Regions from separate parts of the Homo sapiens genome. Here all the other regions are linked to region 3. Evidence: promoter capture Hi-C in 16 types of primary human blood cells and fetal thymus (Javierre and others, 2016). All regions are on one chromosome and are shown on one strand. Each heading gives the region's core, a stretch centred on a gene start or on the middle of the fragment in contact. The rest is flanking DNA. Distances are from core to core; before and after follow the strand shown.

Region 1 (6,354 bases), core at 681-3,180, 230 kb after region 3:
CTGCTGGTGGTAGGCGAGGATGGAGTCGGCCCGGCCCTGCAGCACTGCCTCTGCAGCCCTGCACAGAGTGGGGGCACCGACAGCTCAGAGAGGTGAGCAGGAGGGAGCCCCACCCTCACCCACCCCACCCTGCCCCTGCACGGGGCTCCCTCGGAACCCCAGGCTGAGAGGTGCTGGGCAGAGAGAGAGAGAGACTTGGCCTGCCCACCAGGCACTTACGTGTTGGCCAGGTGGGTGGTGAAGACATATACGAACTGCGAGGGAGGCTTTCCGGGGACGCCCCCGCCCCCGCCCCCGCCCCCAGGGGCATCAGGCCGAAGGCCAGGAGGAGGGCCGTGCGGGGCGCCTGGCACGCTGCTCTCGCTGAGGGGCAGTTGGGTGGTTTGGCCGGGACCCAGCTGTGGGGCCGCCATGGCTGGGTCTGCTACATTACAATCTGCAGGAGAGAGGACAGGGAAAGGGGCTAAGTGGTCTAGATACAAGAAGGACCAGCTGATGCCCCCTCCCACTGATGCTCACAGCCTTACAGCTCGTGCCCACAGGGACATTTGATGTCAGTATCTGGTGTTCTCACCAGGCTGGTTTCCACGATGGCAAGAGTGGTGACCATGTGGAGAGCAGGGACAGAGAAAATGTGTCCTCTCCACAGGCTCCCATGGGCCTGGCATTCTGCTGGGGACTTAACAGGTGTGATTTCATCTCATCAACACACCCTGGGAGGAACGTGTCACACACTCCACTTAACAAAGGAGGAAATAAGTTCCTCACCCACAGTTACACAGCCAGTTAGTGCAGAGCCAGAACTGAACCCAGGGCCGGGACTCTGAAGCTCCGCTCTGAGCTGCTGCCCCTCTCACTGGGTAAGTGTATGTGCACACAGTCTAGTGACCCAGTTAGGGAGAAGGCAGAGAGGGTACACAAGCTGATGATCCAAATGATGGATGGTTTTTCACTCTAGCCCCACCACTAACTGACTTTGTGATTTTATGAACCAGACATCCCTCTAAGCCTCGGTTTCTTCATCTATAAAATGTAAAATACTAACCTCCTCCTTGCACAGGGGGCAGGCCAAAGAAATATATTTTTTAACAGTAAGTTTAAATCAATGTCACAGACTAAAAAAATCCATTTGAAAAACAGAGAGCCGGGAGCGGTGTCTCACGCCTGTAATCCCAGCAGTTTGGGCGGTAGAGGCGGGCGGATCACCTGAGGTCATGAGTTCAAGACCAGCCTGGCCAACATGGTGAAACCCCGTCTCTACTAAAAATACAAAAATTAACTGGGCATGGTGGCGCATGGCTGTAATCCCGCTACTCAGGAGGCTGAGACATGAGAATTGCTTGAACTTAGGAGGTGGAAGTTGCAGTGAGCCGAGATCACACCATTGCACTCTAGCCAGGGCGACAGAGCGAGACTGTCTCAAAAAAATAAATAAATAAATAAAAATAAGAAAGAAAAAACAGTTAGAAAAAGCTGACATACTGGAAACACTCTCAAGACAGACCAGCTGCCCTCAGCACCAAGGGAAGTTTTGTTCCATGGTTAGACACTTGACTGTAAGTCTTAGCGTAGAAAAAAATCTACAACGGGTCTAGGTGAGTGGGTAGACCCATTCGCATGCCAAGAAAAGCAAGTCACAGTTCCTGGCCCGCAGACAGTAAGTACCAGCATTCTCAGTTAATGGGAGACAGATTGCCTGAAGTTGTCTCCATCCAGCCAGGGCAGTGACCACCTTCCCATGGGCCCAGTGTCAGGCTGCCCTCTTTGGAAAAAGTTTCTTCTGCACCTTCTTCTCTGATGGACCCACCCCAAAACGGCCCTGCTCTGGACCCTATCTATCCAATTTTACATAGAAGAGCAGAGCCAGAAATTTGCGGGGGAGCTTGAGAGCTGACCTCAATGTGTGAAGGCTGCTGAGTAGCTCTTGGATACGAGCTATGGGGAGACAGGCAGGGCTTAGTCCAACAAGGAACTTTCTAGTACAATAACAATGATAAAAGCTAACATGTTACATGTATAACCTCATTTACTCCTCATACCAACCCTATGAGATAAATAATACTTTTACAGATGAGGAAACTGAGGCCCTTTCCCAAATTTACAGAAATAACCTGGGTTGCAAACGAAGGCAGCCTGATGGCAGAACTAGTCCTGTCAATGTCTACGTTCTATCGCCCCTCCAGTAAGAACTCTTCAAGAATCTAAGGGCAGGCCGGGCACGGTGGCTTATGCCTGTAATCCTAACACTTTGGGAGGCCGAGGCGGGCGGATCACTTGAGGGCAGGAGTTCAAGACCAGCCTGGCCATAATGGTGAAACTCCATCTCTACTAAAAATACAAAAATTAGCCAGGCGTGGTGACGCATGCCTGTAATCCCAGCTACTTGGGAGGCTGAAGCAGGAGAATTACTTGAACCCAGGAGGTGGAGGTTGCAGTGAGCCGAGATTGTGCCACTGCACTCCAGCCTGGGCAACAGAGTGAGTGAGACTCTGTCTCAAAAAAAAAAAAAAAAAAAAAGAATCAGGCCGGGTGGCTCACGCCTGTAATCCCAGCACTTTGGGGGGCTGAGGCAGGTGTATCACCTGAGGTCAGGAGTTCAGGACCGGTCTGGCCAACATGCTAAAACTCCACCTCTGCTAAAAATACAAAAATTAGCCAGGCGTGGTGGCAGGTGCCTGTAATCCCAGCTACTCGGGAGGCTGAGGCAGGAAAATCGCTTGAACTCAGGAGGCAGAGGTTGCAGTAAGCCGAGTTCGTGCCATTGCACTCCAGCCTGGGCAACAAGAGTGAAACTCCGATTCAAAAATAAATAAATAAATAAATAAATAAAAGAATCTAAGGGTAGTACGACTAAAATAGTCGCCTTGAGTATGGGATGTTAGCAATTTCTACTTTGTATTTCCCTATGTTTGCCAGGCACAGTGGCTCACTCCTGTAATTCCAGCACTTTGGGAGGCCAAGGCATGAGGATCGCTTGAGACCAGGAGTTCAAGATCAGCCTGGGCAACATGGCAAGACTGTCTCTACAAAAATTAGCCAGGTGTGATACATGCCTGAGCCCCAGCTACTTGGGAGTCTGAGATGGGAGGATCACTTGAGCTCAGGAGTTTGAGGTTGCAGTGAGCTGTGATCACACCACTGCACTCCAGCCTGGGTGTCAGAGAGAGACCCTGTCTCTAAACAATAAATAAATAAAACTCACAAAGTTTCTACAATGGTGCAGTCTGATGTGACATAAGTGAACTGGAGGTGGTGGCTATGGGGGGAGGTGTCTGGTCTGGGAAGCAGTAAAGGCTTCTATCATCAAAGGGTTCAGCCAGAGGCTTGGCGACCACCAGGTTAGTCCCACGGGGGAGAGAGAACTGATACAGGATGGTCTGTGAGGTTCCAGCTAGCTGTAGAGGTTTGGTATTTGACCCTCTACACCCCTGTCACAGACATAGTCTGCTCACTCCATAACATTTGCTGACTCTCTCTCCTCCTCTGTAATTGGCATCATGATAACACTGACCTCACAGGGCTGTTGTAAGGATTAAATAAAACAGAGTAGCAAAGTAGCCAATGTACTCTTTTCTTTCTTCTTTCTATGGTCCCTGCCTTCAAGGAGTTCACAATTTAATAGTCTCTGGCTAGTTTCTTTTTCTTCTTTCTTTACTTCTTTCCTTTCTTTCTCTCTCTCTCTCTTTTTAGAGATGGGGTCTCCCTATGTTGGCCAGGCTGTTCTTGAACTCCTGGGCTCAAGCAATTCTCCGGTTTCAGCTCCCCAAATTCTGGGGATTACAGGTGACAGCCACCACACCCAGCCTCTCTGGCTAGTTTCTTATGTCTCTCTCCTCAAAAAGATGTAAACGTAAACTTTGAGGGAAAAAAAATATGTACAAGCTTCCCAGGGGCAGGGGTTACATCTGGCTCTCCCCCATCACTCATGGAAGGACAAGATATAGGCGAATCCATAAAAGAATCAGAGGAGGAGTGGGCATCCCTCCACACCCACTTCTTGTCCTGGTGACACACCCTGGGTACTTGCCAGGAGTCAATTAGAGGTTAGGGAAGGGCACTAGAGACACGGCCAAGTGGCAACTCACACCCAGGCTTAGCAGGGCTTTGCACAGCAGAGCCAACTGCCCGGCTCCCAGTGTCCCTGGACGCTTCACCGCCCTCCCTCCACTAACCAGTAGGTGGCAGCATAGGCCAGGAATTCACAGGTAGAGGTGCAGGTGACGTGACCAAGAAGGAGGCCACTCCACTCTGCCCCACCTAGGGTCCCTAGGGAGAGGGGGTCACTGAGCACCTGGAAGGCAGAGGCGAGGCAGTTGCAGTGTAGGGAGGGACAGAGTCTGAGAGGTAGGATGGGAGAGAAAAATCCAGGACTCCCAGTCCTCACTTCTTTCCCAGGCTCAGTCCTCTCAAGTCCATCCCCCAGGAACATCACGGGCTACAGCACCCTGGCATCGACAGGCACTCACTGTGGGTGGCCCCAATGGGCTTGTCGTCCTCCTCACTGTCCGGTCCAGAGCACCATTCGTCCCCACTGTACGGCTGCTTCCGCTCCAGCACACAGCGCCGCTTACTCCGCGGCGCCACCTCTGCCCAGGCAGGACGGAGGAAAGAGTGAGTGCCTAGAGGCCCCATTATTCTCCCACACCCAGGGTCCCTCCCAGATCCATTCTCTAAGATGCCCCACCCTAGAGGGCACTGCCCAGGCCATGGTGGGCACTTCGCCAGCCCGTGGCCCCCACCACGCCACCATTTGTTTCTGATTTCTCTCTATAGCCCCATGCCTGTCTCCCCTCCCCCCCAACACCAAGTACAGCATAATCCCCAACCACAACTGGTTCTAATTAGGGCTGGAGGGGAGGGGGAGCTGCTGCTACTCTTCCAGGCCCCAGTGCCTGCTCCCAAAGGGCTCCCACCAGCCGGGATACGGAGGCTCCTGGAAGTGTGTGGGTCTGGGGTCTGCTCCTCACTCCATGGCACCTCCCTCTCCCCTTCTGGAGCTCTGGTGGGAAAGCAGGAGGGGAAGGAGTCCAGAAGTCCGACCACTCTGTGTGGCCCCTCCATGGGTGGCATCATGGCCAACCCCAATCCCGAATGATCTGGTTGGTGGGTGTTGAAAGGTACCCATGCAGAAATACTGGAGAAGAACGTGGGATGAGGACTGGACAAGCAGGGAGCAGAGAGGTGATCTCCCAGAACATCTGAGCCTTGGACTATGGGAGATGCTAGGGTCTTAGGGATGAGGAAATGGGGTACCTTTGGCCTCTGAATCCAGGGATGGGGTCCCAGCCTCTCGCTGCTCTCCAGAGTCCACAGACACACTCCGGTCCCTCTTCACCTTGCCCTTGAGCGAGCTGAAAGGGGGCACCCCTGCCTGGGGGTTCTTCAGACTTGAGTTGCTAGGCGAGATCTGGTTGGCCTTGGCCCCATGGTTCCCCGCCCCCACGCCCTTCGAGCCCACGTTGCAGGTGGGTCCTTGGTTCACATTCTGGTGCTGAGATTGGGCCCCGCCATTCCCTGTCTTGCCATGATTGGTCAATTTATTTTCTGGGTGCATTGGCTTGGCTGGGGCAGGGGGGCAATGACCGCGGGGGGACAGCGGCGGGCTCCCTGGAGCTTCTCTCCTCCTGGGGTGGGGTAACCTGGGAGGAGGTGGGAGAAATGTGAAAAGTTAACCTTGCTAGGGGCTAGGCATGCCTGCAACTTAATTACCCCATCCTGCCTCCCCTAACAATGGGGGAGGGTGGGGGGAAGGGGTGGTATCTCAAGACCACCACCAGCTATTCTCTACCTCCCTCCATGGCTTCCTCAGACAAGGGCTGAAGCCCTCATCCACCTTGGGGAGTGGAGATGGGGAAACCCTCCACCCCCTAGCCTCCACAATTTGAATGGAAACCAGGGCCTAGAGTTGGCAGAATTCACCCACCTCAGCCCCAAAACACCCATCAGCCTGCAAGCTTCTGTGGCAACCCTGTCCTCTGTATCAGACTTAAGCATCCTCTCTTCTAAGATCTGCTGTCTTCAGACTCCTTCCAAGGTCTCAAACCTCAACTCCCATATGTCCCAACACCAGCAGAGAAGGGCCACAGGACCTGGGGTCACTGCACATGCCCGGGTCTCATTCCCCAGGGACAGTGGGAAAACGCACACCAGGGAGTGCTACCCACTGGTCCAGACAGCTGGAGGGGAAGGCCTGAGGAGGGGGGCTTGGCAGGCCAGGCCGGCAGGCAGAAGCAGGAGGAAAGGGGGAGGGGAGCGGTGTGTCAAGCAGATGGGGAGTGTAGCTTGAAGCCAAGGATTCCTGCAGCCTAGGCTGCGGGCCCTTTAAGCTCCAGCCCGCTCCCCCCGCCGCCTCCC
Region 2 (6,631 bases), core at 2,363-4,862, 140 kb after region 3:
CCACGTGTCAAAGGCAGGACCAGTTGGAGGTAATTAGATCACGGGGCAGTTTCCCCATGCTATTCTCATGATAGTGAGTCTCATGAGATCTGATGGTTTTATAAGCATCTGACATTTCCCCTGCTTGCACTCACTCCATCCTGCCGCCCTGTGAAGGAGGTGCCTGCTCCTCCTTTGCCTGCCATGATTGTAAGTTTCCTGAGGCCTCCCAAGCAATGTGGAACTGTGAGTCAATTAAACCTCTTTCCTTTATAAAGGGTATTTCTTCACAGCAATGTGAGAACGGAATAATACAATGGTGGAACCCCGTCTCTACTAAAAATACAAAGATTAGACAGGCATGGTGGCACACACCTGTGATCCCAGCTTCTCGGGAGGCTGAGGCATGAGAATGGCTTGAACCTGGGAGTGGAGGTTACAGTGAGCCAAGATAGCGCCACCGCACTTCAGCCTGGGTGACAGAGTGAGACTGTGTCTCAAAAAATATATATATTTAAAATATATATATATATATATATATATATACAAAATGTTGATATGTGTGGTGGGGTAGGTGAAGGAGTTTGTGCAAACTGAAAAGTCCAAGATTCAGGTTTTCAAATGCTGTTGTCAAGTTTGTCTCTCTTTCGGCTGTTTTCCTGTATTTAGGCTCTTTGTGTGGCAGCAAGAGGGACTCTGGAAGCTCAGGTTTACCTGCTAGTTTATGCATAAGATAACAACAGGGCCAGGTATGGTGGCTCGCACCTATAATCCCAACACTTTGGGAGGCTGAGGCAGGAGGATTGCTTGAGCTCAGGAGTTCCAGACCAGCCTGTGCAACATGGTGAGACCCCCATCTCTACCAAAACTACAAAAAATTTTAAAAATTAGCCAGGTAAGGTGGCCTGTGCCTGTAGTCCCAGCTACTAGGGAGGCTGACGTGGGAGGATCCCTTGAGCCCAGGAGGTTAGAGGCTAGCATTGAGCTGTGATCATGCCACTGGAGGACTCTAGCCTGGTCAATAGAGCACGAGCCTGTCTCAAAAAATACAGAAAGAAAAACAAAAGCATCATGATAACGTCACGATAACACTTTCCTGATGACGCTCATGAAACTCCCAGGGCAGATTCTAACAGGCCCAGCTTGGGTCATGTGTCCATCCCACAACCAATCATTGGTAAGGGAGATGGAATATTCTGATTGGCCAGGCAAGGTCAAGTCCCCAGCCCCAGGGCTATGATCCAAAGACAATGATATCACCTGCAAAGGTCTGATGAGCACTTTGTAATTGGTAAAGTGTGCAAATGTAACAATTATCACCTGTCCATAGCAGATTAGACCGTATATTAGAAGGAAAGAGAGTCTGTATTAAGTAAGCTCTACCCTTACAGCAAAGAGAAGTAGAAGTGGATAACAGGGAGACTGACAGGAAAAACTATACAAATTCCACATAGAAGTGCAGCATTCTGGGACATTTGCTGTAGAAAAAAATGGTTCTACAAACTTTATTATATAACATTGTTATCACCATGATCTATTTAGAAAAGGTTTGGGGGTTTTTTGTTTTGGTTTTGGGTTTTTTTGGTTGTTTTTGTTTGTTTGTTTGTTTTGAGACAGGGTCGCACTGTGTCACGCAGGCTGAAGTGCAATGGTGCAGTCACGGCTCATTGCAGCCTCAACCTACCTGGGCTCAAGCAATCCTCCCACCTCAGCGTCCCGGGTAGCTCTGACTACAGGTATGTGCCGCAACATCCAGCTAGTTTTTAATTTTTTTGTGGAGACTGAGTCTTGCTATGTTGCCCAGACTGGTTTCAAGCTCCTGAGTTCAAGTGATCCTCCAACCTCAGCCTCCCAAAGTGCTGGGATTACAGGTGTGAGGCGGAAAAGTGTAATATACATTTTAAAATTCATGTCTGGAGAAGTCATCCTTGTCTGTGTGTTTAACTTGTCTATCCAGAATGACTTTTTCCAAAGTTGCCAGGTAGCTGGTGATTTAATAGGGACCCTGTCCTAGTGGAGAGTCAATCTCATTCAGAAGATGATGTAGGTTTATTACAGGACAGCAAACAGTGAAAACTAAATTGGCCATTTATACATTAAGTTCTATATACTAATTATGTTTTCAGTTCCACACTCCAAAACAGAATATCGAATTGGGTGGGTCCCTTAAAGTAGGGCAATTCTCATGTTTACATGTTAAGCTTGCTTGGCCAGAACTTGCTACCCTAAAAATATACTCACTCTACTCACATGTAGGATGTAAACACATCCCTCTTTGCAGATCTGTGTTTAATCTCTTGGGTTCTCTTTAGCAATTTCCTCATTAGTAAGTTGTGTGTTGGTGGAAAGTGCTCCCAGCAGCAAAAACACAAGCAGGTGCATAACATGTGGATTATCATGCTGATAGCACTTATCCCAGAAGATGACACATCTCACCCTTTTTCCATTTTACAAACAGCTCTGACATTAGATCCACCTGTTACTTCAGGACATTTCAGGAGCTTTTCCTCAGAAAGTCCAATCTCCTCCCCAGCTGATCTGCTTCTCATCCCATTAGCAATGTCACCACACTTTATGCCGTGTGCGATCATATCCTTCCCCAAGTTATGACTATATCGTAGGGAGAAGAAAAGAGAAGAGAGAAGGAGAAGGCAAAGGAGAGAATAATTAATTCATAGTTCATTTATTAACTTCCTAGGCTTTGATTACTTGCCTGAATCCATTTTCTTCATATTTGGGCTGTACAGTAACCTGATTCTTTTGTTTTCTTCTGAGACAGGATCTTGCTCTGTCGCCCAACCTGGAGTGCTGTGGCACCATCTCGGTTCATTGCAACCTTGACCTCCGCAGGCTCAGGTGATCCTCCCCACTCAGCCTCCTGGGTAGCTGGGACCACAGGTGCACACCACCATGCCTGGCTAATTTTTGTATTTTTTGAGACAGAGTCTCACTGTGTTGCCCAGGCTGGTCTTGAACTCCTGGGCTCAAGCAATCCTCCTGCCTTGGCCTCCCAAAGTGCTGGGATTATAGGCGTGAGCCACCATGGCCAGCCTCAATTAATCTTTATATTCTCATTTCCCAGTATATTCTTCATCCTTCTTCATCTGCTTATCCTCAAAACCTCAGCTCAAAGCCATAAGGCCTTAAGTCTGTTTCCCTCATTAGAACATAAGTTCAACCTGGCAGGGTGGCTCACACCTGTAATCCCAGCACTTTGGGAGGCCCAGGCGGGAAAATTGCTTGAGCCCAGGAGTTTGATACCAGCCTGGACAACATGGGAAAACCCCACCTCTACAAAAAATACAAAAATTAGCCAGGCATGTTGGTGTGCACCTGTGATCCCAGATACTCAAGAGGCTAAGATGGGAGGATCACTTGAGCCAGCAAGGTGGAGACTGCAATGAACTAAGATCATGCCACTGAACTCCAGCTTGGGTGACAGAATGAGACCCTGTCTCAGAAAAAGACAAAAAGAAAAAGAAAAAAAAAGAAAATCTATCACTCTTCCATCTTTTCCCTGTACCTATAATTTATTCATTCAGCAAATATGTATGGATTGCCTACTCTATGTCAGGCAGTGTGTGGCTGAATGGTTCTCCTGTTATAATAATAATGATAATAACTTAAAAGAGAATAATGTTTATCAAGGCCAGCCTGAGCAACATAAGGAGACCCCATCCCTACAAAAAATAAAATTAAGTTAAAAAAAATCAGGGCTGGGCAAGGTGGCTCACGCCTGTAATCCTAGCACTTTGGGAGGCCAAGGCAGGCAAATTGCCTGAGCTCAGGAGTTCAAGACCAGCCTGGTCAACATGGCAAAACCTCGTCTCTACTAAAAATACGAAAAATTAGCAGGACGTGGTGGCATGCCCTTGTAATCCCAGCTACTCAGGAGGCTGAGGCATGAGAATCGCTTGAACCCGGGAAGCAGAGGCTACAGTGAGTCGAGATAGTGCCACTGCACTCTAGCCTGGGTGACAAAGCGAGACTCTGTCTCCAAAAATAAATAAATGAATAAAAATAATTATTTTTGTTGAGACGGTCTCACTCTGTTGCCCAGGCTGGAGTGCAGTGGTGCCATCTTGCCTCACTGCAGCCTCAACTTCCTGGGATCAAGTGATCCGCCCCAGCCTCCCGAGTAGCTGGGAATACAGGTGCATGCTATCCTGCCCAGCTAATTTTTGTACTTTTTGTATACTCTGGGTTTCACCATGTTGACCAGGCTGGTCTCGAACTTAGCTTAAGCGATCCACCCACCTCAGACTCCCAAAGTGCTGGGATTATAGGCGTGAGCCACCGTGCCTGGCCAAATTAAGTTAAATCAAATTAAAATTTTTAAAAAAGAATGTCACAGAAATGGAATCATACAGTGATTAACTTTTTTCACATGCTGTATATAAATTCACAATCCATTTTGAATTAATTTTTGTGTAAGATGTGAAGTTTAGGCCGGGTGCAGTGGCTCACGCCTGTAATCCCAGCACTTTGGGAGTCTGAGGTGGGTGGATGGATCGCTTAAGCTAAGTTCAAAACCAGCCTGGTCAACATGGTGAAACCCCATCTCCTCTAAAAATACAAAAAATTAGCCGGGCATGGTGGTGTGCACCTGTAATCCCAGCTACTCAGGAGGCTAAAGCAGGAGAATCACTGGAACCCAAGAGGTGGAGGTTGCAGTGAGCCAAGATTTCACCACTGTACTCCAGCCTGGGCAACAAAAGCAAAACTCTGTCTCAAAAAAAAAAAAAAGTGACATTTAGGTCAAGGTTCTTTTTTTTTTTCTTTTGCCTATGGATGTCCAATTTCTACAGGGCTATTCATTGAAAAGACTATTCTTCCTCCATTGAATTGCTTTTGCTCCTTTGTCAAAAATCAATTTCTGGCTTGTTCCATTGACCTGTGTATCTGTCACTACTCCATACTGTTTAAATTACTATATCTTTACAGTGAGTCTGTAGCAATACAGTAAATCTTAACATCAGACAGAATGATTGCTTCCAGATTATTCTTCTGTTTCCAAATTGTTTTAGCTATTCTAGCTCCTTCGACTTTCTGTATAAATTTTAGAATAAGCTTGTCTTCACTTACAGAAAATCTTGCTGGACTCTTCAATTTTAATAATTTTAAAGTTTTCTTCATTTCATTTATTTAATGTGTATTAGCTTTTAAAATGATTTATTCTATTGTATGTCACACAGATGGTCAGAAGACACCAAATTTCCTATGTTTCTAAGAGGTAGGGCAAGCCCTCTTTTGTCATGGTAGTCATCAAATAATTCCATACGTTATCTTTACAAGTGTTCCTTAAACCTCACAGCAACCCTAAGAGGAATATACTAGTAGTCTCTCTGTTTTACAGATGAGGAAACTGAGGCATGGATAGATTACATAACATGTCCAGTGTCTCATAGCTAGAAAGTGGCAGAGTTGGGATTTGAACCAAAGCAATCTGGTTCCAGAACACATACTGTTATCCTCTGTGCTATGCTGTTCTGTTTGAATATAGTTATCTCATCCAAGAAATTTTTATTCAGTGCCTATTATGTGCCAAGGACTGTTCTAGGTGCTGTGTGTTCTAGGTGTCCTATGGCACCCATGAGTAAAATAAAAATAAAATAAAGCAGTGATTAAGACAAAATCCCAGCTCCCATGGAGCTTCTATTGTAAAGGGGGAGAATTTACTGTATTAATGCAATAATTATTGTTTTGTTGAAGTATTATTTTATTATTTGATTTATATTGAGAACACAGACACTTTAAATATAGGAGCTGGGATCTTACCCAAAAGATATGCTTATTCACTGGATATAAATACTCACCATAATTCTACCAATCTTCTGGAGACTGAAAAATCCCTCAGTTGGGAGATAGATAAAACCATCTTGGGCCGGGCGTGGTGGCTCATGGCTGTAATCCCAGCATTTTGGGAGGCGGAGGCGGGCGGATCACGAGGTTAGGAGATCAAGACCATCCTGCTAACACAGTGAAACCCCGTCTCTACTAAAAACACAAAAAAATTAGCTGAGCCTGGTGGCACGCGCTGGTAGTCCCAGCTACTCAGGAGGCTGAGGCAGGACAATCGCTTGAACCCAGGAGGCAGAGGTTGCCACGAGCCAAGATCACACCATTGCACTCCAGCCTGGGTGACAGAGTGAAACTCTCTCAAAACAAACAAACAAACAAACAAACAAACAAACAAAAAACCATCTTGACTTCAAACACCATAGATTAGTTTTAACTATTTTAGAACTTTAGATAAAATTATACGGTATATTTTCCTTTCTGACTTCTTTTGCTCAACATTATGTTGGTAAGATTCACACATTTGTCGCATGTAGTTGTAGTTTGTTCATTCTTGTTGTGCTGTTCCATTGAGTGAAATAACCTAGTTTATCCATTCTATTGCATGTGGAGATAGAGATTGTCTCCAATGGCCGGGCGCGGTGGCTCACGCCTGTAATCCCAGCATTCTGGGAGGCCGAGGTGGGTGGATCACTTGAGGCCAGGCGTTCGAGACCAGCCTGGCCAACATGGTGAAACCCCGTCTCCACTAAAAATACAAAAATTAGCCGGGCATGATGGTGCATGCTTGTAATCCCAGCTACTCAGGAGGCTGAGGCAGGTGGATGACTTGAACCCGGGAGGTGGAGGTTGC
Region 3 (6,367 bases), core at 3,109-5,608:
CAATTTAATCCTGGCACTAACCATCGGGAGTTAGTGCAGAATCCACACTCAGGTTAAGGGCACGGTCCTGAGTGAGACGGCCTCACTTCTGACACCAGCCACAAGTTCAGGGGTCCCCAGGCCACCTGCACTTATTACCAAGTGGCTACAAATGTAGGGGTTCCCATAACCCTTTCAGATTTGATAATTTGCTAGAACAACTCACAGGACTCAGAAAAGCTTACGGTTATGCTTAGGGCTATAGTTTTATTATAAGAATACAAGCCAGGATCAGCCAAATGAAGGGGTGCATGGGGCAAGGTCTAGGGGGGCCCTGAATGTAGAGCTTCTGTGTCCTTTCCCCATGGAACCAGGACGTTTCCCCTCCTGGCTCATCAATGTGTTCACCAACCAGGACTTGGTATTTATTTGTTTTATTTGTTTGTTTGTTGAGACAGGGTCTCACTCTGTCACCTAGGCTGGAGTGCAGTGGTGCAATCTCAACTCACTGCAACCTCCACCTCCCAGGTCAATGATTCTCACGTCTTAGCCTCCTCAATAGCTGGGATTACAGGCATGCACCACCACACCCTGCTAATTTTTGGCATTTTTGGTAGAGACAGGGTTTCACCATGTTGGCCAGGCTGCTCTCAAATGCCTGGCCTCAAGTGATCCATCCACCTCGGCCTCCCAAAGTGTTGGGATTACAGGCATGAGCCACTGTGCCCAGCCTACTTACCAGGACTTTGAAGTCCAGAGTTTTTATTGGGGTTTCATGACATACGCATGATTGATTGAATCATTGATCATGTAATTGAACTCCATCTCCAGCCCCTTCTCCTCCCTGAAGGTTGAGAAGTTGGGCTGATATCATGTGGACCAAAACCCCAACCCTCTACACACATGCTTGGCCTTTCTGGCACGGCCTGCCTTCATGTGGAGTCGTCTTGTTAGCAGAAGCTGTCTAGGGACCCACCATAAGTCACCTCATTAACAAAAGCTACCAAGAGCCTGGGAAACATGGCAAAACCCCATCTCTACAAAAAATACAAAAATTAGCCAGGCATGGTGGCACACACCTAGTCCTAGCTATTCAGGAGGCCAAGGTGGGAGGATCACCTAAGCCCAGAGAGATTGAGGCTGCAGTGAGCCATGACTGCACCACTGCACTCCAGCCTGGGTGACAGAGTGAGACCCTGTCTCAAAAAGCAATCAGGCCAGGTGCAGTGACTCATGCCTGTAATCCCAGCACTTTGGGAGGCCAAGGTGGGTGGATTGCTTGAGGTCAGGAGTTTAAGACCAGCTGGCCAACATGGTGAAACCCCGTCTCTACTAAAAATACAAAAATTAGCCAGGCGTGGTGGTGCGTGCCTATAGTCCCAGCTACTTGGGAGGCTGAGGCAGGAGAATCACTTGAACCCTGGGGGCAGAGGTTGCATTGAGCCAAAATGCTCACCACTGCACTGCCAGCCTGGGCAACAGAGCTAGATTGCTGTCTCAAAAAAAAAAAGAAAGAAAAAAACAACAACAAAAAAACACTAATCAGGGACCACTATTAATAACAGACATTCCTATCACTTGGGAGATTCCAAGGAGCTTAGAGGTTACTTTGGAGGAACCCAAGACAAAAATGAAACTAATTCCTCATTATACAAGAAGTGGCTTATACATGAAAGGATTGACTCAGCAGGTCTGCTGTGTTCAAACCCTGCACATTTCAGAGAAAATTCTGGCCTGTGACCAGCCCTGAGAGATGAGATTTAAATTACCAAAATATGCTGCCTGATAAGTCTTTGTTTTTCTGGGGCCTTGGGCCATGCCAGATATTTGATGCTAATAATGTGATTTGTGGCAGGGGCCTTTGGCCGCCCAGTATCAGTTTGAACTCTGGAGAGTGAGTAACTGAGGTCAGCCACACAGGTAGTCCACGCTTTCATCACTGACCTCCAATAAAAACACTGGACACCAAGACTCAGGTGAGCTTTTGTGATTGGCAATACTTCATGCGTGCTGTCACATGTTATTGCTGGAAAAATCAAGTCCTGTCCATATAAATCCACTGGGAGAGGAAAAACTGGAAGATTGAGATTATTTTCTCCTGGACTTGGCCCTAGAATATTTCACCTTTGATGGCTTTAACATGTATCTTTTCACTGTAAGAAACCATAATCAAGGCTGGGCACGGTGGTTCATGCCTGTAATCCCAGCACTTTGGGAGGCTGAGGCAGGCGGATCACAAGGACAAGAGATTGAGACCATTCTTGCCAACATGGCAACACCTCTGTCTCTACTAAAAATACAAAAATTAGCTGGGCGTGGTGGCAGGTGCCTGTAGTCCCAGCTACTGGGGAGGCTGAGGCAGGAGAATCGCTTGAACCCAGAAGGTGGAGGTTGCAGCGAGCCGAGATTGCACCACTGCACTCCAACCTGGCGACAGAGCGAGACTCTGTCTCAAAAAAAGAAAAAAAATGAAACCATAATCATGGTATAACCATTTGGAAGTGTTAGTGAATCACTGGCCTGAGGTTGGTCTTAGGGAACACCAGTAAAGTCATCTTCCCCTACATTTGGCAAACAGCCTAATGCTTGACAAAGCACTGGACCACCCAGCCTCTCTGAAGTCCTCATTACAATTGCTCAGGACAAAACCTATTAATTATCCCAGGTACACTTTTCCCCTTTATATTCCACAATTGTCATGGGCAAGCACTGTCAACTCTCCCTGTAACACACACCCTCTATTGAACCCCTTGTCTCTGTCTCTAGTCTAACCACTGGAACCCAAGCCCAAACCTTGTTGCCTGGAGCCCCGCTCTCCCCGGACCTGTTCCCACTCTGCCCCAATCACACAGGCCTTCGTCCCAATCCCTGAACAGTGCGTCAGGGCCTCTGCATGGCCCTTTCCATGCCTGGACTGTCCTCTCCCAGATCAGCTCAGCAATGGTTCCTGCCACAATTCTGCTTACACATCACCTCCTCAGAGACACCGTCCCTCCCCATCCTCTCTAACACACCCTCTGCTCACCCACACCAGCGGGCCCTAACTTCTCTCTACTTCAAACTGTGCTTCTGTTACTGTTTTGCTTCTATTATTATTATTATTATTATTTGAGATAGAGTTTTGCTCTTGTTGCCCCGACTGGAGTGCAATGGCATGATCTTGGCTCACTGCAACCTCCACATCCCAAGTTCAAGCGACTCTCCTGCCTCAGCCTCCCGAGTAGCTGGGATTACAGGCGTGCGCCACCATGCCCGGCTAATTTTGTATTTTTCATAGAGATGGGGTTTCACCATGTTGGCCAGGCTGGTCTCGAACTCCTGACCTCAGATGATAGCTCCCACCTTGGCCTCCCAAAGTGCTGGGATTACAGGCATGAGCCACCGTGCCCAGCTGTTTTTCTTCTATTATTATTGTTCTTGCAGGAGCTGGTAAAGTGGCTGATGTGGCCACAGCTCCATAAATCCATGTGGAACGAAGGGTGGACATCGCCTGAGTCCAGGAGACAGGACAGGGTCACTCATCTCTGTCCCTGGTGATGGAAACTCAGGCTCAGGAAAGAGCCTTGACCTGCCCTGGGTCACAGAGAGAATATGAGGGTCAGGGCTCAAGCCCAAGTGCTGTCTTCAGGCCCTTAGGCTGCCTCTCACACCCAGACTAGGAAGCTGGAGCAGAAAGTTTGCTAGAACAATCCTGAGAAGAGGCCTGCACAGTTCAAGGGGCAGCTTGGAGGAGGAGAGGAAGGGAGGGCGGGCTCTGGCCAGCAGGCTCTTGGACCTCAGGCCAGGCTCTGGCAGCTGCGTCTGGTATCAGGACTGCAGGTCCCGACAGGGGGCGGTGGCTCACGCTTGTATTCCCAGCACAGTCGCCAAGCCTAATGTCCCTTCCAACGGTGGAAAATTTTGGTAAAAATCAATGACAGGCTGGGCGTGGTGGTGCATGCCTGTGATTCCAGCTACTCAGGAGGCTGAGGCACGAGAATCTCTCGAACCCGGGAGGTCTAGGCTGCAGTGAGTGGAGATGGTGCCACTGTACTCCATCTGGACGACCGAGCAAGACTCTAACAACAACAACAAAAAAAACGGACTGCAGGTGCAGTGCCCAGCACAGAGCCTGCTACATAGGAATTCTCATTTTCTTCTCTTCCCTACTCTTTCCTTCCTTTATAATCTCTTCCTTTCCCTCTGAAGTACCGACCCCAGAGCTTGAGATCTCATCCCAGCCTCCCTCTTATTGCCATCCTCCCCTGCTGCCTTCCCCACACCCCTACCTCTCACAGGGTGGGGGTAGGGCCTCCTGGGACCCCAGTCCCAGCCCCAGCAGCAGTAGCAGGCACAGCTCCCAGGTCCTCCCTGGCATGGTGGCTGTGACTGTGACTGAATGAGCAAGCCCAGGCACCTTCGGCTTGCTGGGCACAGCCTGGCTCACCTGCCTGTCCAAGTCGGCCAAAGTCCAGCCTTTGAGGCGTGGCCACCTGAGGGGACGTGTGCTTGGTCTGTGTGTGGCCCGCTTGCCCCTCCTGCTCTCAGGGCACAGTGGCCACCTCCCTTGCTTCTACTTTGCCTCTTCTATTTCACAGTCTCAGCTGGTGCCAATGGCTCAGGCCCTTCCCTCAGAGCATGGTGGTGGGGGTGGGGAGTGGGCACCCAAAGGCCAGGGACACAGTCGAGGCCACACACCTGTAACCTGGATGCCAGGTTCCTTGGGTGGCCCCAAGACCACCAACCTCAGAGAGTTACCATTTCCCTTAACATTTCAAATGGAATGGCTCAAGATCCTGTCCCTGGTGTGGTGTGAAATTCAGGGCCTCTCACTGTTATCTGCAAGAGATACAGCGGAAGCACAGGACAGTAGAACCATTCTGTCTGGGGAGGACTAAGGGAGACCCACAATAGTGTGTCATTTGTAATGAGTCTTTTTTTTTTTTTTTTTGAGACTGAGTCTCACTCTGTCGCTAGGCTGGAGTGCAGTGGCGTGATCTCAGCTCACTGCCACCTCCGCCTCCCGGGTTCAAGCAATTCTCCTGCCTCAGCATCCTGAATAGCTGGGACTACAGGTGCCCGCCACCACGCCCAGCTAATTTTTGTATTTTTAGTAGAGACGGGGTTTCACTGTGTTGGCCAGGATGGTCTCAATCTCTTGACCTCATGATCTGCTCGCCTTGGCCTCCCAAAGTGCTGGGATTACAGGCGTGAGCCACTGCGCCAGTCCTAATGAGTCTTGATGACCGCATAGGAGTTTGCCAAGGGAAATGGGCTGGAGACCACTACAATGTATGCAGAGCATGTGAAGAGAAGAGCAAACCCCTCAGCCTAGCTGCAGAGAACTTGGTGTTCATGCAGGGAAGGGTTTTGAGATAGACTGGAGGAACATGTTGGCACCAGTCTGGAAATGGTCTTTGCCAAGCCAAGGAATGTAATTCCTTGTAATTCCCCAAAGTGGAACCAGCAGAGAAGTTTGTGAGCTTAAGAAGCAGATTCAGGCTGGGTGCAGTGGCTCATGCCTGTAATCCCACCACTTTGGGAGGCCGAGGCGGGTGGATCACCTGAGGTCAGGAGTTCAAGACCAGCCTGGCCAACATGGTGAAACCCCGTCTCTACAAAAATACAAAAATTAGCTGGGCATGATGGCGGGTACCTGTAATCCCAGCTCCTCAGGAGGCTGAGGTGGGAGAATCGCTTGAACTCGGGAGACAGAGGTTGTAGTGAGCCGAGATCATGCCACTGCACTCCAGCCTGGGCGACAGAGTAAGTCTCTGTCTCAAAAAAAAAAAAAAAAAAAAAAAAGCAGATTCGGTTACTTTAGGAGGCTCATCCCCTCAACATATGGAAGGTGAGCTGAAGGGACAGGGGACAGGGGGTGGGCAAGGCACATGGAGTTTAATGATAGGCATGACCTCTCCTGAAGGACTTAGGTTTGCAGTTAAGGATGTCAGTTGTGGCACCTGAGCAGTGTTTACTGCTATTAAAAAGAAAAACCTTAGACAAATTAAATTTAACCATTTATTCAAGCAAAGAAATGACTCATGAATCAGGCACCACTCTGAACTAGTAAAGGTTCAGATAGCTCCACCCAGTAATGTGGGCAGCTGGCATTGTTTTTTTTGTTTGCTTTGTTTTTTGAGACAGGGTCTCGCTCTGTTGCCCAGGCTGGCATGCAGTGGCTCCATCACAGCTCACTGCAGCCTTGATCTCTCAGGTTTAAGGGATTCTCCCACCTCAGCCTCCTGAGCAGCTGGGACCACAGGCACATGCCACCACGCCCAACTAATTTTTAAATTAAAAATAATTTTTTTTTTTTTAGAGATTGGGTCTCCCTATGTTGTCCAGGCTGGTGTGGAACTCCTGAGCTCAAGCAATCCTCCTGCCTCATCCTCCCAATGTATTGGGA
Region 4 (6,313 bases), core at 2,013-4,512, 170 kb after region 3:
AGTTCAAGACCAGCCTGAGCAACATGGCAAGACCCTGTCTGTACAAAATATTTTTTTTTTGAGACGGAGTTTCGCTCTCGTCGCCCAGGCTGGAGTACAATGGTATGATCTCGGCTCACTGCAACCTCCGCCTCCTGGGTTCAAGTGATTCTCCTGCCTCAGCCTCCCAAATAGTTGGGATAACAGGCACCTGCCACCACGCCCAGCTAATTTTTGTATTTTTAGTAGAGACATGTTTCACCATGTTGATCAGGCTGGTCTCAAACCCCTGACCTCATGATCCGCCCACCTCAGCCTCCCAAAGTGCTGGGATTACAGGCGTGAGCCACTGCGCCTGGCCAAAAATAATTTTTTTTTTAATTAGCCAGGTGTGATGTTGCATGACTATAGTCCCAGCTGCTTGGGAGGCTGAAATGGGAGAATCACTTGAGCCCAGGAGTTCAAGGTTTTGGTGAGCTGTGATTGAGCCACTGCACTCCAGCCCATCTCAAAAAAAAAAAAAAAAAAAAAAAAAGCTTTCACTTAAATATTTTTAGGAAATAAAAAAATGAGCTAGGCATGGTGGTGGGCGCCTATAGTCCCAGCTACTCAGGAGGCTGAGCAGGAGAATTGCTTGAACCTGGGAGGCGGAGGTTGCAGTGAGCCGAGATCGCGCCACTGCACTCCAGCCTGGGCGACAGAGTGAGACTCTGTCTCAAAAAACAGAATAAAATAATAATAAACTCATTGTGTGTCAACATAAATAACATACATAAATAACTTTTGCTAGTATCTGAATGTTGGCGTACTCCCCAAAATTCATATGTTGAAACCTAATCCCCAAGGTGATGATATTAAGAGGCGGGGTGTTTGGGAGGTAATTAGGTAATGAAGGTTCCACCCTTATCGAGGGATTAGTGCCTTTGTAAAAGAGGCTTGAAGGAGCTTCCTTGCTCCTCACACCTTGTGAGGACACAAAGAAGGAGCCATCTATGAGGAACAGGCTTTCACCAGACACCAAAATTGCTGACACCTTGATCATGGACTTCCCGATCTCCAGAATTGTGAAAAATAAATTTCTGTTGTTTATATATTACTCAGCCTAAGGTATTTTGTTATAGCAGCCCAAACATACTCAAACACTTTTATGAAACACAACTACATTTCAAAAGGAAAAAGAAGTTGGTGAGAAAAGAGCAGCTTTGTTTTACATTTTTACAAATCTTATTCATCTCTGGCTTCACAGAAGACAGCTGGATTCTCATAACTGGTGCTGCATGTAGTCTAGTGTGATATCAGTCATTCTGTAGCCTCTGGAACATTCCACATTTTGTGATAGAACAAGAGTGAAAATGGCATGTAAGCACTATAACAGTTCACAGATAATTTTTTATTATTATTATTTTGTTAAGATGGAGTCTTGCTCTGTTGCCAGGCTGGAGGGCAGTGGTACGATCTCAGCTCATTGCAGCCTCCGCCTCCCGGATTCAAGCAATTCTCCTGCCTCAGCCTCCTAAGAAGCTGGAATTACAGGTGTGAGCCACTGTGCCTGGCCTAATTTTTATATTTTTAGTACAGATGGGGTTTCACCATGTTGGCCAGGCTGGTCTTGAACTCCTGGCCTCAAGGGATCTGCCTGCCTTGGCCTCCCAAAGTGCTGGGCTTATAGGCATGAGCCACTGTGCTCAGTCCAAATTTTTTTTCTTTTCTTTTCTTTTTGAGACAGAGTTTCACTATTTTTGCCCAGGCTGGAATGCAGTGGCGCGATCTCGGCTCATCGCAATCTCTGCCTTCCAGGTTCAAGCAATTCTCCTGCCTCAGCCTCCCAAGTAGCTGGGATTACAGGCATCTGTCACCACACTCGGCTAATTTTTGTATTTTCAGTAGAGACGGGGTTTCATCATGTTAGTCAGGCTGGTCTTGAACTCCTGACTTCAGGTGATCTGCCTGCCTCGGCCTCTCGAAGTTCTGGGATTACAGGCGTTAACCACCATGCCCGGCTTATTTTCTTTTTTAAAAAAAATTTTTGGGACCGGGCGCGGTGGCTCACGCCTGTAATCCCAGTACTTTGGGAGGCCGAGGCGGGTGGATCACGAGATCAGGAGATCGAGACCATCCTGGCTGACGCAGTGAAACCCCGTCTCTACTAAAAATACAAAAAATTAGCCGGGCGTAGTGGCGGGCACCTATAGTCCCAGCTGCTCAGGAGGCTGAGGCAGGAGAATGGCATGAACCCGGGAGTTGGAGTTTGCAGTGAGCCGAGATTGCGCCACTGCACTCCAGCCTGGGCGACAGAGCGAGACTCCGTCTCAAAAAAAAAAAATTTTGGGGCTGGGTGCAGTGGTTCACGCCTGTAATCCCAGCACTTTGAGAGGCCAAGGCGGGTGTATCACCTGAGGTTGGGAGTTCGAGACCAGCCTGACCCACATGGGGAAACCCTGTCTCTACTAAAAATACAAAAATTAGCTGGGCATGGTGGCAGGTGCCTGTAATCCCAGCCACTGGGAGGCTGAGGCAGGAGAATCTCTTGAACCGGAAAGACAGAGGTTGCGTTGAGCTGAGATCGTGCCATTGCACTCCACCCTGGGCGACAGAACGAGACTCCGTCTCAATCAATCAATCAATCAATCAATGAAAATAGTTTAGATTTCACAGACCCGCTGAAAGGGTCTCTGGGACCTCTGATATTCCCAGACCACACTTTGGGGACCCCTGTTGTAGCATTATGCCAGAGGACTCTGCTTGGTCCTGTTCAGCATTCTCACTACCTGCTAGGACAAAATAATCAATGTTTACCACTTTGGCAGATGATGCAAACTGGGAAGGGAATTATTACAAAAGATGACAGAATTAAAACTTTTAATTATTTCAGCTGACCAGAATCAAACAGAATTAAATTGTATGTGGGATATCTTGCATTTACGTTTTGCTTTATTTTAAATTAGTTGCACGTGTACTAGAAGCATGGGATGGAAGGAACTGGCCAGATAGCAGTTTGTATGAAAAAGATCTGGTGGTTTAGGCCAACCACAAGCTAAATATGAACCAACAGCTTGTAACATAATGTCAAGAAGTGTAACCATTGAACTGGGACAGACGGGCTGAGGGTTACTTGGAGGAGGGGTGGGTAGAGGAGGGAGTAGTTACATTTTCTTTGCTCCAGCCATTCTCACATTTGCTCTGACTCTCTGAACACTGCTTGCCCCCAGCAGTTTGCTCTGTCAAGAGGCCTCTGTCCAGGGGTCTGCTTGCTTCTGTAAAACACTAGAGCTCAATCTCAGCATCACTTGCAGTCTTCTTCAACATCACCCTTTGGAACTTGGCATGGCCACCTGGGACTCAACTCTTCCTGGCCTGGCCCACAGGAAGAACGGGTCATGGCTTCTTCCTGCTTGTCGCCAAGACGGTGTCTTTGTGCCTTGTGAAATGATTCCATCCCTTCCCTCTTGGGTCAAGAGAGAAGTTCCTCCCAAGATCAGCAAGGATGGCCCCGACTGGCACACACTTCAAGAAGGTGATGATTTCTCCTATTCTGCTCCGGTCTAAGTCAGTCAAGAATGGCATTCTAATCTTGTTACCGGAAAGGGGTCCCGATCCAGACCCCAAGAGAGGGTTCTTGGACCATGCGCAAGAAAGAATTTGAGGCAAGTCCACAAAGTGAAAGTCCACAAAAAGAAAGCAAAGGAATAAAAGAATGGCTACTCCATAGGCAGAGCAGTGGCTTGAGCTGCTCGACCGAGGATACTTACTGTTACTTCTTGATTATATGCTAAGCAAGGGGTGGATTATTCATGAGTTTTCTGGGAAAAGAGTGGGCAATTCCCAGAACTGAGGGTTCCTCCCCTTTTTATTTTTTTAAATTTATTTTTATTTATTTATTTATTTTATTTATTTATTTATTTATTTATTTATTTATTTTTATACGGAGTCTCGCTCTGTCACCCAGGCCGGAGTGCAGTGGCGCGATCTCGGCTCACTGCAAGCTCCGCCTCCCAGGTTCACGCCATTCTCCTGCCTCAGCCTCCCAAGTAGCTGGGACTACAGGCGCTCGCCACCACAGGCTAATTTTTTGTATTTTTAGTAAAGACGAGGTTTCACCATGTTAGCCAGGATGGTCTCGATCTCCTGACCTCGTGATCAACCCGCCTCGGCCTCCCAAAGTGCCGGGATTACAGGCGTGAGCCACCGCGCCGGCCTCCTCCCCTTTCGAGACCATATAGGGTAACTTCCTGATGTTGCCATGGCATTTGTAACTGTCATGGCGCTGGTGGGTGTGTCTTTTAGCATGCTAATGCTTTATAATTAGCGTATAATGAGCAGTGAGGACAACCAGAGGTCACTCTTGTCACTATCTTGGTTTTGGTGGGTTTTGGCTGGCTTCTTCACTGCAACGTGTGTTTTTTGTTTGTTTGTTTGTTTGTTTGTTTTTGAGACAGAGTCTCTCCCTGTCGCCCAGGCTGGAGTGTTCACAGCAACCTCCGCCTCCCGGGTTCAAGCCATTCTCCTGGGTTCAAGTGATTCTCCTGCCTCAGCCTCCCGAGTAGCAAAAGGCGCACGCCACCATGCCCAGCTAATTTTTGGTATCTTTAGTAGCGATTTCACCATGTTGGCCAGGTCGAACTCCTGACCTCGTGATCCGCCCGCCTCGGCTTCCCAAAGTCCTGGGATTACAGGCGTGAGCCACCGCGCCCAGCCACCTGCAACATGTTTTATCAGCAAGGCCTTTATGACCCGTATCTTGTGCTGACCTCCTGTCTATTCCTGTGACTAGAATGCCTAGCCTCCTAGGAACGTAGTTCAGTAGGTCTGAGTCTCATTTTACCCAGCCCCTATTCAAGATGGAGTCGCTCTGGTTCAAACCCCTCTGACAGTCTGGGAAAATTACTCACTCCATTAATGACCTGAAAAAATTCCAGAGGATGATGGAGGCAGAGAATAGGCTCTGGAGTCAGGTGTAGGTACAAATCCCTTCTCTGTCACTTGCCAAATGCATGCCCACTGCACAAGTTACTTAAACTCTATGAACCTCAGTTTGCTCATTTCATTTATATAATGAAAGTAATATTGGGTATTATGAAGGCTGAGTGAGATAATTCATATCAAGTGCTTATCATAGTATCTGGCACATAATAATCATTTATTAAATATTAATTGTATAAATTGTATTTTGTCTCAATTTTTTTTTTTTTTTTTAGATAGAGTCTCTCTATGTTGCCAGGCTGGAGTGCAATGGCATGATCTTGGCTCATTGCAACCTCCGCCTCCTGGGTTCAAGCCATTCTCCTGCCTCAGCCGCCCGAGTAGCTGGGACTACAGGTGTGCGCCACCACACCCAGCTAATTTTTCTATTTTTGGTAGAGATGGGGTTTCACCATGTAGGCCAGGATGATCTTGATCTCTTGACCTCATGATCCACCCCTGACTCGGCCTCCCAAAGTGCTGGGATTACAGGTGTGTGCCACCTCACCCGGCCAATTTTTTTTTTTTTTTTAAGACTGAGTCTCACTCTGTTGCCCAGGCTGGAGTGCAATGGCGTGACCTTGGCTCACTGCAACCTCTGCCTCCAAGGTTCAAGCAATTCTCCTGCCTCAGCCTCCCAGGTAGCTGGGATTACAGGCACGCACCACCATGCCTGGCTGATTTTTTTTTTGGTATTTTTAGTAGAGACGGGGTTTCGCCATGTTGGCCAGGCTGGTCTCAAACTCCTGACCTCAGGTGATCCAGCCACCTCAGCCTCCCAAAGTGCTGGGATTACAGGCGTGAGCCACCATTCCTGGCCTGTATCAAAAATTTTAAAGGGAAACCTGATCCGAAGAGGCACCTTTCTGCCTACAACACAGGCCCTTTCATCAGCTGACCACAGGAGGGGTGCTCCATGGAGCCCCAGGGCCACAGGCATCTCCATTTCAGAAGAGGAGTTCTGCCCTACAGGTACATAACTAAAAGTCCCTTCCAGAGGGTTTTCCTAGAATGAAAATGGATTAACTTCAGCTTTGAAATGACAAATTTCATTTCCTCTCCATTCCTATAAAAGCTTCAAAGATTTCAGGGTCAATTTTCTGTTGGGGCTCAAGCTCCAAGGGTCTGTGTGTGTGCATCCCCTGGATTCCCCAAGAAGAAGAACCCGGCCCAAGACCTCCATGCAGCCAAGCCTGTCTCTACCAAAAGCCAAAGCTTGGGCGAGAATACAGATGGAGGCTCATAGACCATATACCTGATAGTTACAAGTTATAAAGAGACTATTAGACCAAATATGGTTTATCCTCCTGTGATATTCTGAAATATATATTTGGTCTTTATCACCATTTCCCAGCATACAACTCCTAAAATCCTG

What was found. The method cuts DNA at HindIII sites, captures the fragments that hold promoters and counts their contacts. A CHiCAGO score of 5 or more calls a contact.
Region 1: a fragment that was not itself captured here is called in contact with the fragment with the promoter of TREH in region 3 in 2 of 17 cell types (naive CD4 T cells and total CD8 T cells); the score reaches 7.8 in naive CD4 T cells.
Region 2: a contact is called between a fragment that was not itself captured here and the fragment with the promoter of TREH in region 3, in 4 of 17 cell types (naive CD4 T cells, total CD8 T cells, non-activated CD4 T cells and 1 more). The highest score is 9.3, in naive CD4 T cells.
Region 4: a fragment that was not itself captured here is called in contact with the fragment with the promoter of TREH in region 3 in 1 of 17 cell types (naive CD4 T cells); the score reaches 6.2 in naive CD4 T cells.

Annotation. Positions count from the first base shown.
Region 1 is chr11:118,903,017-118,909,370 of GRCh38, forward strand. It overlaps BCL9L (BCL9 like), which reads right to left. Exons shown (of 10, transcript NM_001378213.1): 4 at 5,254-5,639; 5 at 4,467-4,586; 6 at 220-436; 7 at 1-58. Among named protein-coding and RNA genes, the nearest start is that of MIR4492, 4.5 kb to the right of the region's middle. RefSeq lists enhancers at 4,447-4,516, 6,245-6,354. The HindIII fragment of the contact is 3,900 bases long and covers 1-3,880 here.
Region 2 is chr11:118,811,535-118,818,165 of GRCh38, forward strand. No RefSeq gene overlaps it. Among named protein-coding and RNA genes, the nearest start is that of DDX6, 24 kb to the left of the region's middle. The HindIII fragment of the contact is 2,869 bases long and covers 2,179-5,047 here.
Region 3 is chr11:118,675,292-118,681,658 of GRCh38, forward strand. It overlaps TREH (trehalase), which reads right to left and starts at 4,359. Exons shown (of 15, transcript NM_007180.3): 1 at 4,248-4,359. The coding sequence starts at 4,336. RefSeq lists enhancers at 3,589-4,250, 4,251-4,910. The HindIII fragment of the contact is 8,736 bases long and covers 218-6,367 here.
Region 4 is chr11:118,849,112-118,855,424 of GRCh38, forward strand. No RefSeq gene overlaps it. Among named protein-coding and RNA genes, the nearest start is that of CXCR5, 32 kb to the right of the region's middle. The HindIII fragment of the contact is 5,498 bases long and covers 514-6,011 here.